Linked DNA regions of Homo sapiens: all the other regions are linked to region 1. The links are contacts of gene promoters, found by promoter capture Hi-C in blood cells and fetal thymus (Javierre and others, 2016). All regions are on one chromosome and are shown on one strand. The core of a region is centred on a gene start or on the middle of the fragment in contact, and the rest is flanking DNA. Distances in the headings are between cores, read along the strand shown. Region 1 holds the start of FFAR3 (free fatty acid receptor 3). Region 2 holds the start of SDHAF1 (succinate dehydrogenase complex assembly factor 1). Region 3 holds the start of LINC01801 (long intergenic non-protein coding RNA 1801).

Region 1 (3,183 bases), core at 367-2,866:
TTTTACTTCATGTTCATTTAAACTTAATCTTGGGCCAGGCGGGGTGGCTCACGCCTATAATCTCAGCATTTTGGGAGGCTGGGGTGGACGGATCACCTGAGGTCAGTAGTTCGAGACCAGCCTGGCCAACATGGCGAAACCTCATCTCTACTAAACATACAAAAATTAGCCAGGCGTGGTGGCGGGCACCTGTAATCCTAGCTACTTAGGAAGCTGAGGCATGAGAATTTCTTGAACCCGGGAGGCAGAGTTTGCAGTGAGCCAAGATTGCACCATTGCACTCCAGCCTGGGCGACAACAAGACCCTGTCTCAAAAAAAAAAAAAAAAAAAAAAAAACAACTTAATCTTCATTTCTACCTCCATCCCCCAGACAACCACGAGTCTACTTTCTGACTCTATAACTTTGCCTATTCTGGACATATCATATAAATAAATGAAATCTGACAATATATGTACATGGTCTTTTACGTCTGGCTTGTTTCACTCAACATAAGGCTGTAGTGTGTATGGGTAGCTCATTCCTTTTCTTTGCCAAATAGAATTCCAGTATATGGATGTGCCACTTTTTTATTCACTCACCAGCTGATGGGCTGCCAGGTAACATTTCCACTGTTGGTGACTATGACCAACACTGCTGTGAACATTTAGGACTGAGTCTTTAAGTAGACCTGAGTTTCCACTTCTCTTAAGTAAATACCTACGGTGGAATTGTTGGATCGCATGGTGAATTTATGTTTAACTTTTTAAGCAACTGCCACCTGCTTTCCAAAGCAGGGACACCACCTCCCATTATTCTCACCAGCAGTGAATGAGGCCCCTATCTCTCTACATTCTCGCCGACCATAGGCATTGTCTGACTTTTTGCTTGTGGCCATTCTAGTGGATGTGAAATCATATCTCATTGTGCCCTGTGATTGTTTGAATGAACTAATAGATCACCTGTGAAACTGGACAGCACTTGGGTTTGAACCCTAGTGGTGACATTTCACAAGCTGTATCACCTGGAGCAAGTCACTTCCCTACGGTGAAGGACAAGGATTTTATGACATAAAAGCGTTGCCCTAGAAGCAGTGTCTGCTATGGATTATGTGCCCATGAAAAGGCAGCTGCTGTCATCATCGCCACCACCATTATTATTGTTATTATTATTACATTGTCACCCCAGAGATAATCCTGCACCAGTGACAGGGAAAATAGCAGCTGGCATCCGCTGCCTGCTCACGACCACACGCCAGGCTTCCGTCAAACCACTCAACATGTATTAGTAATCTTTTAATCGACCTACATATTGTTTTAATTTGCATGTGTTAATGCGTTGATCTATGAGATGGGTATTATGATGAGCTCTGTTCTGCAGGGGAGAAAGCAGAAACATGGAGAATTTAAGTCATTTCCCCCAAATCACAAAGTCAGGAAGAAACAGACCTCACGGAGCTCGCTCTCTGTCATTGCATCACACTTCCTGCCCTTACAAGGCAAATTGGATAAATGCCATTCTAGAGAAGCAGACAAAATTCAAGTGAAGAAGGGGAGAGGAAGACGTCGGCTGGGGCCTGCTTAGAGCATCCCAGCTGAGACTGCATGAGGAGGGAGGCACGCAGTTGTGGAATTTGTTCCCCTTTTAGCATGCTGACCAGCCCTGGCAACGGAGCTCAAGGCATCTATGTGCCACTGCTCAACAGTGAGTGACGTCATGGGCACGGCCAGGTCTTTATCAGTTCTGCCGGATAAATAGCCAACTGCACTAGGTCTGGAGAGACAGCAAGGTGCTGTGCGGCAGAGCATTTGGGGTCTCAAAGAAGCAGGTGAGCCTGGGCCCGAGGGGCTGGGTGGAGGAGCACCTTGGTGCTTCTCTGCTGGGGAAGGGACAGGGGACAGGGCATGCTCAGGAAGACAGGCAGGCTGACCCCGCCTGGAAGGCACCCAGAGACAAGAGGGGTGGGCGTAGTGACCTCGTGCCCTTTTAGGGGAGATGCTGCTGGCCAGAGGCCGTTAGGGCCCCCACTACCAACTCCATGTTACTCTCTCTCACCAGTGGCCACCACCATGGATACAGGCCCCGACCAGTCCTACTTCTCCGGCAATCACTGGTTCGTCTTCTCGGTGTACCTTCTCACTTTCCTGGTGGGGCTCCCCCTCAACCTGCTGGCCCTGGTGGTCTTCGTGGGCAAGCTGCAGCGCCGCCCGGTGGCCGTGGACGTGCTCCTGCTCAACCTGACCGCCTCGGACCTGCTCCTGCTGCTGTTCCTGCCTTTCCGCATGGTGGAGGCAGCCAATGGCATGCACTGGCCCCTGCCCTTCATCCTCTGCCCACTCTCTGGATTCATCTTCTTCACCACCATCTATCTCACCGCCCTCTTCCTGGCAGCTGTGAGCATTGAACGCTTCCTGAGTGTGGCCCACCCACTGTGGTACAAGACCCGGCCGAGGCTGGGGCAGGCAGGTCTGGTGAGTGTGGCCTGCTGGCTGTTGGCCTCTGCTCACTGCAGCGTGGTCTACGTCATAGAATTCTCAGGGGACATCTCCCACAGCCAGGGCACCAATGGGACCTGCTACCTGGAGTTCCGGAAGGACCAGCTAGCCATCCTCCTGCCCGTGCGGCTGGAGATGGCTGTGGTCCTCTTTGTGGTCCCGCTGATCATCACCAGCTACTGCTACAGCCGCCTGGTGTGGATCCTCGGCAGAGGGGGCAGCCACCGCCGGCAGAGGAGGGTGGCGGGGCTGTTGGCGGCCACGCTGCTCAACTTCCTTGTCTGCTTTGGGCCCTACAACGTGTCCCATGTCGTGGGCTATATCTGCGGTGAAAGCCCGGCGTGGAGGATCTACGTGACGCTTCTCAGCACCCTGAACTCCTGTGTCGACCCCTTTGTCTACTACTTCTCCTCCTCCGGGTTCCAAGCCGACTTTCATGAGCTGCTGAGGAGGTTGTGTGGGCTCTGGGGCCAGTGGCAGCAGGAGAGCAGCATGGAGCTGAAGGAGCAGAAGGGAGGGGAGGAGCAGAGAGCGGACCGACCAGCTGAAAGAAAGACCAGTGAACACTCACAGGGCTGTGGAACTGGTGGCCAGGTGGCCTGTGCTGAAAGCTAGGTCCTCCGGGGGAGGAGGGTGTAGCTGGCATGTCATCCTCAGGGCGCTTCCTCGCTCACGCCAGGAGGGACTTGGAGTGGCGAGCTGGGGCCCGA
Region 2 (3,183 bases), core at 491-2,990, 640 kb after region 1:
CCAGAGTGAAGCCTGGGCAACACAGCGAGACTCTGTCTCTACAAAAAACAATAAAAGAAGAATTAGCCGGGTGTGGTGGGATGTTCACGTAATCCTAACCACTGGACATGTTGAGGCGAGAGGATTGCTTGATCCCAGGAGATCAAGGCTGTAGTTTCACCAATATGGTGAAACCCCGCCTCTACTAAAAATACAAAAATTAGCCCAGTGTGCTGGCACATACCTGTAATTCCAGCTACTGGGGAGGCTGAGGTAGGGAGAATCACTTGAACCTAGAGGCAGAAGTTTCACCATGTGGATCAGGCTGGTGTCGATCTCCCGACCTCAGGTGGTCCGCCCGCCTCGGCCTCCAAAAGTGCTGGAATTACAGGTGTGAGCCACCGTTCTAGGACATGTATTTTTGATAGATACATACACCTGCCAGGCAGGATTCACAGTGGTTTGTGATTCTCCCCTGACTCCAAGACTCCAAGCCTAATCCCCGCCCCTGACCAGCTTCTCCTCTCTGAAGGGGAATGGACCCCCCAGCTGGTTGCCGGCCCAAGTGTGCAGAGCCGCGGTTGCGCGCTGGGTGGAGGGGTCCCCCAAGCTCCGGTGCTGGTGGGGCCCGAGGATGCTGTGTCCTTGCGGGCCTCCCTAGCGCTACGAGGACACCTCCAGGCGGCCCGCGGGGACAACAACGGCATTGCGGCCTACCACCTAAAGCTCCTGGGAGGACAACGGGGTTGCAGTCTAGTCGACTGTTCAGGGTGTCCCGGACTCCGGGCTTTAACAGTCGGTAAGGACCCAAACACCGCTGTCCACTGCCCCGACTCCCACCCGCAGAGGGCGCGACCAACCCAGCTCCTAGAGCCACACGCTGCCTCTGGGGGCTTGGCGCCCACACTCTCTCTGCTTGTCTTCCCCTGGCCCGAGAAGCCTGTCCAACCGGCCGAGAGCCATTTCCCTACGGGGTCTCGTCCCTCTGCACGTGCCCAGGGCTGGGACCCCAGACACAGACCTGCCCCGGACGAGGGAACGCACGGAGCTTCCCAAGATGGTTTGAATCAGTAACTGACGGCAAAAGCACGCTTGTGCCCGGCGTCTCTCCCAGTGCCCCGTGCCCTTGGGACCCAAAGTCCGAACCGGTAGCCGGGCGCGGTGGCTCACGCCTGGAATCCCAACACTTTGGGAGGCTGAGAATCGTTTGAGCCCAGGAGTTCGAGCCATTCTGGGCAACATAGGGAGACCCATCTCTGCAAATAATAATAATAATAAATAAATAAATAAATAAATAAATAAATAAATAAATAGCGGGCGCGGTTGCGCGCGTCTGTGGTTCCAGCTACTAGGGGAGTTGAGGTGGGAGGATCGCTTGGGCCCAGGAGTTCGAGGCTGCAGTGAGCCAAGATCGCGCCACTGCACTCCAGCCTGGGCGACAGCGAGACCCCGTCACACACAAAAAAACCCCTAGCTTCCTCTTCTCCCAGAATGCAGGAGTTAGGTGAGGACCCTCTGTTCCCTCCAACCCAAGACCTAGGAGTCCGAACACATAACGCCCTCCAGGCGGTGCCAGGATCCCCAGAACTGCTGTCCCCTCAAGAACACACGTCCCCTACGTGGGAGGCCGCGACCAGCGACTCCGCCCACTTCTCCCAGCCGGCTGTTACGTAACTGCAACGACAGCCAGTCAGACGCGGCAGCGCCGGATGGCGGGAGGCGGGAGTTGGAGGCCAAGGGAAGCGCTGGGCGGAAGTGGCTGTGGCTTTGCCCTTTGGCCTTTGCTGGCTGTGTGGCGGCTCCGCGGTTCGCAGGTCGTTCGCTGAGCGTCTCTGCTTAGCCGCGGTCATGAGCCGGCACAGCCGGCTGCAGAGGCAGGTTCTGAGCCTGTACCGCGATCTGCTGCGCGCCGGGCGTGGGAAGCCGGGCGCCGAGGCGCGAGTGCGGGCAGAGTTCCGGCAGCATGCGGGCCTGCCGCGGTCCGACGTGCTGCGCATCGAGTACCTGTACCGCCGCGGGCGGCGCCAGCTGCAGCTGCTACGCTCGGGCCACGCCACCGCCATGGGCGCCTTCGTACGCCCGCGGGCCCCGACCGGGGAGCCTGGCGGCGTGGGTTGCCAGCCTGACGACGGCGACAGTCCAAGGAACCCCCACGACAGCACGGGGGCACCGGAGACCCGCCCCGACGGACGGTGACAGGCGAAGAGCCGAACTCGCTCGATGGCGTGGTGGAGCCAGGAGGCTCGCCTGACTGCATGGGGGGACTGGGGAACCCGCCTAAGGTGAGAGGTCTTAAGAGACTAGCTTGACGAATTGGGGATGTCAGAGACTCCTCCTTGGCGACGCAGGGGGCCTAGAGAGCCCCGTGATGGACGGCAAGGGAGGCCCGCCTTTTCCGATGCTTGGAGACAGGTCGGTGCTCCTCCCCCATGAGGGCTTGGGGCGGCCTGGGACGCTGGCGGGCTGGACAGTGTCAAGCCAAGAGCTACTTGCCCGAAGGTACGGGGAGCCAGGACGACCCCCGGTGGACAGGGAGAGCCTGAGACGCCCTTCTCTTGACCCCTGAGAACATACCCACTTCTGGCTCCTCAAGGAGTCTCCCCTCTCCTGTATTTAACTCTGAGAAGTGCAGACTTTTTGCTGAGAACGTTTTGGGAAGGTGCCCTGATGAGCGGTGAGAAGCCCGGAATCCCCTTCTGGAAAACTTTCCCCCATTAATTGTGACAAGCCAGGACCATGAGGAAGGGGTAGGGGTCTATCACCCTGGTTGATCAACTGAAGACCCCCAAAGGCCCCTACTTGATGGTTTTGAGGGGCAACATTGACTCATTTGCCCCTTCCCTCTCGGAATGTTGGACAAAGGGAATAAAATTGGGGATATGTCTACTTCCCTGTTGGTGGTCTTAAAGCTTTTATATATTTCAGGATTTTTGAAACACCCCCAGCCCCCCTGCCACCACACACACACGCACACAGACACCTGGAAGGGACCATCTGGGAGGTGATAGGTGTGGGGATCTGACTCCTTCCGGAGCCCTGTAGACTGGCACATTGATTGAAGCGGCATAGTTTTCTCCCCTGGGCAGATCTGTGGAGGGGGCTCATCCTGGCTTAACCCCCAAAGATACCCCAGTTGGCTCCCTAATGGAGGGCAAGTGATTTAACATCTTTGTGTGGAAGAGGAAATGGTGGAGCTGAGAACTG
Region 3 (3,183 bases), core at 451-2,950, 530 kb before region 1:
AATACTTAGAAATAAATTAGCAAAAGCTGTGGAAGATCTATGCACAGACAACTGCAAAACAGTTGCAAATTTTCTCTTAAAAAGCCAGATAGTATGAGGTTGGTACAAAAGTAATTGCGGTTTGAAAGTAATGGCAAAAACCACAATTACTTTTGCACCAGCCTAATAAGTAGCATAGCCTTTGTGGGTCACGTTGTCTGTGACACAGACTCTTTGTGTTTCTGTGTATTCTGCTGCAACTCTTTAAAATTGTTAATAGGATCCTTCACTCACTGGCCTTACATGTAGGCTACAGGCTAAATTTGTTGGCCCATAGGCTGCAGTGCTGACCCTTGCTGCGAAATATTTCTAGGAGAAAATACTCAAGACCTAAATCTATGGAGATATATATCATCCCTGTGGCCTGGAAAAGTTAATATTGGCAAGTTGTCCATCTTGGCCAGGACCCTGAAAGATAGTCTATGTTATTGTAAGAAAGATTGGTGTCCTTGGGGGCATGGGCTTTTAAGCCAGGGTGGAATCTGCAGAAGTCTGAGGTGCCATTTCCTGTCCCTATACCTGGGAGAAAATAGCTCTCAGACAGCTGTGTGGCTTTCTGCAAAGCTCAATTAGAAGAGAAATTATCAGGCGTGGTGGCGCATGCCTGCAGTCTCAGCTACTTGGGAAGCTGAGGTGGGAGGATCTCTTGAGCCCAGGAGTTCGAGGTTGCAGTGAGCTGTGACTCCAGCCTGTGTGACAGAGTGATACGCTGTCTGGAGAAATTCATCATGGAGATATGCTGATAATTGGTGGTCCCTGCCTACATCCTCCCAGGAGACTGAGCCAGACCCGGTGTGGCCAATGGTCCACTTATAAATTGAACCATGTTAGACCTCCTAACAGTGCAAGTACTCATTACAGCTCTGACATGGTGCTAAGCACCCCAAGTATTATAAACAAGTGTAATCCATTATGCACACACGGTGAGGCTACACCAAAGTCTGGTGGTTAAATGCATGATCTGTGGAATCAGACAGCATGGGTTCAAACCCTGGCTGGGGTGAGATGGGGAACTTTCTAAGGCTTAAATGCTGTTTTACCAAATATTTTAAAAGAAGTGAAAATACACTGCCTGTTAGAAAGGGAAGTTTTGGGGTGAAGCATGTGGGCAGTTTAGAATACCTGGTGTCCACCTCAGAAACCATCACAGCCCAGATGTTATAGGTTCAGGCCTTTCCAGGGCGGGCACATAGAATGTCCTCGCCTCCAAGGTTTGGAGAGCTGCGCTATAAAGGTTCTTGCAGGCGGTGTCCTGAGCCCAGAGCTGCCTGCAGGCGGGCAGGAGTTGTGGGGGTGTTGGCATGATCTGGTGTCCTCTGTGGCGGCTGCCTGAAAAGAAGAGGCCGAGGGTTCTTTGTCCTATGTCTCTCCGAATCTTAATACCTGCCCTGCAGCAGACTCCCTGGCTGCCAGGGCACACCGGTCACCCCGGTAGACGGTGCCGCCCCGCCCTCGCCAACCCCTTATCCCAACTCCCATTTCCAGCCTTCCAGGAAGCCCGATCCCCACCCCCGCACCATGTGAGCTGCTCCTCTACTCCGCGTAGGGGAGGCTCTGCCTCCGGTGACCCCGAGGGAAAGAGCTAGAGCACCCACAGGTGCTGACTGCTGCGGCGCTGAGGACGCTGCACACCCGTTCACCGGCTGACCCAGTGCTGCTGACAACCAGCGTCCGCGGCCCCCAACCGTCGAACAGAGCGCGTGGGACCATCTGGTGCCAAACGCCTGCAACGGAGTGCAGAAGGTCACGAGGCGCTAGAGACCGGTTGGGGGCAGGCGGTTGGGCCTTGACGCTCTTTGCTGGGCGTCGTTTTTTCTTCTCGCCCCCTTCGCTCCTGTGCGCTTAGTGCACAAGCCCTGGGCTCACACACCCTTTCTCTGTCACGTGTTCCAACAGCATCTCACCTGCATCGGGCTGAACAGGAGACCTCAATTTTCTCCTCTACTCCAAGGATTCGCCGGCTCACAATTGCTCTTCATATCTTCAGCAAGCTTTGTCTGTGCCCTGCCCCTCTGTCCCCCATTGCCTACCATACCCGCTCCCACCAAGCCTGCATCACCTCGCTGTCTCTGTGCCTCTCCCCGGCCCCCTTCCAGGCCTTTCTCCCACAATTTCTGGTCTTTGCTCCTGGGTGTTCCGTCGACCCTAAGAGGCGGTGTCTGATCTGGCAGGCTCAATGCCTTTCTCTGGCGCTGTCTGCACCTCCAATATATTCAGTGACTCAGGAAGGATCCATCCTGCAGGGCCCAGATAGACTCTCCTGTTTGCCACCTGAGCAGAAAGGCACCTCTGTGAGGTCTTTGCCACCCAGTCACCCTACCAGACCCAATCAGCACGTGGGAGACGTGGATGACAGGAGGACAGAGATGGAGAGGGACCAAAAGACTACATGGGGCCTTGAAGGATGTCATAAGAACGTTGCCTTTTACTGAGAGATGGGAACCATGGAGGGTTTCAAACTGCTGAGACTGGCATGATATGACTTAGGGCTTTTTTGTTTGTTTGTTTGTTTGTTTTTTCTTTTTTGTGACGGAGTCTCAGAGTCTTCCTCTGTCATCCAGGCTGGAGTGCAGTGGTGTGATCTTGGTTCACTAGAACCTCTGTCTCCCGGGTTCAAGACATTCTCCTGCCTCAGCCTCCCGAGTAGCTGGGATTACAGGCACCCACCACCACGCCCGGCTAATTTTTGTCTTTTTAGATGTTTTATCTCAGAGAAAGAGCTTCCATGTTCTCTAACTCTTGTAAACAGGTATTCTTCAAGAAACTTTACAATATAACATTCATACACAGAAGTGTACAAATCATCTGTCTATTCCTCAATACATTTTTGCAGAATGAACAAACCTATGTAATCTAGATCAAGAAGCAAAACACAGGCACCTCAGAATCAACCTCATGCTCATTCCTAGTCACTATGCCCCTCCCAAATTTTTAACATTATAGATTAGTTTTGCCTATTTAAAAACTTTATATAAATGGAACCCTACCATGTGTCCTGTTTGTGGCTGTGTCTTTTCATTCAACACTTCATAAAATTCATCCATGTTGTTGCTTTTAGCAGCACTTTATTCTTTTATATTGCTGTGTGATGTTCCATTGAACAAATATAATTTACCCATTCTATTATTGATGGATGTTTGGCTA

The links. The method cuts DNA at HindIII sites, captures the fragments that hold promoters and counts their contacts. A CHiCAGO score of 5 or more calls a contact.
Region 2: the fragment with the promoter of SDHAF1 here is called in contact with the fragment with the promoter of FFAR3 in region 1 in 5 of 17 cell types (neutrophils, M0 macrophages, monocytes and 2 more); the score reaches 10.9 in neutrophils.
Region 3: a contact is called between the fragment with the promoter of LINC01801 here and the fragment with the promoter of FFAR3 in region 1, in 5 of 17 cell types (non-activated CD4 T cells, fetal thymus, total CD4 T cells and 2 more). The highest score is 7.7, in non-activated CD4 T cells.

The regions. Positions count from the first base shown.
Region 1 is chr19:35,356,844-35,360,026 of GRCh38, forward strand. It overlaps FFAR3 (free fatty acid receptor 3), which reads left to right and starts at 1,617. Exons shown (of 2, transcript NM_005304.5): 1 at 1,617-1,806; 2 at 2,037-3,183. The coding sequence starts at 2,048. The coding sequence ends at 3,088. RefSeq lists an enhancer at 2,938-3,183. The HindIII fragment of the contact is 8,969 bases long and covers 1-3,183 here.
Region 2 is chr19:35,993,448-35,996,630 of GRCh38, forward strand. It overlaps SDHAF1 (succinate dehydrogenase complex assembly factor 1), which reads left to right and starts at 1,741. Exons shown (of 1, transcript NM_001042631.3): 1 at 1,741-2,865. The coding sequence starts at 1,828. The coding sequence ends at 2,175. RefSeq lists enhancers at 704-1,203, 1,538-1,587, 1,848-1,927 and silencers at 1,988-2,047, 2,078-2,197. The HindIII fragment of the contact is 4,511 bases long and covers 1-2,886 here.
Region 3 is chr19:34,831,169-34,834,351 of GRCh38, forward strand. It overlaps LINC01801 (long intergenic non-protein coding RNA 1801), which reads right to left and starts at 1,701. Exons shown (of 6, transcript NR_033982.1): 1 at 1,557-1,701; 2 at 1,162-1,368. The HindIII fragment of the contact is 2,823 bases long and covers 1-2,028 here.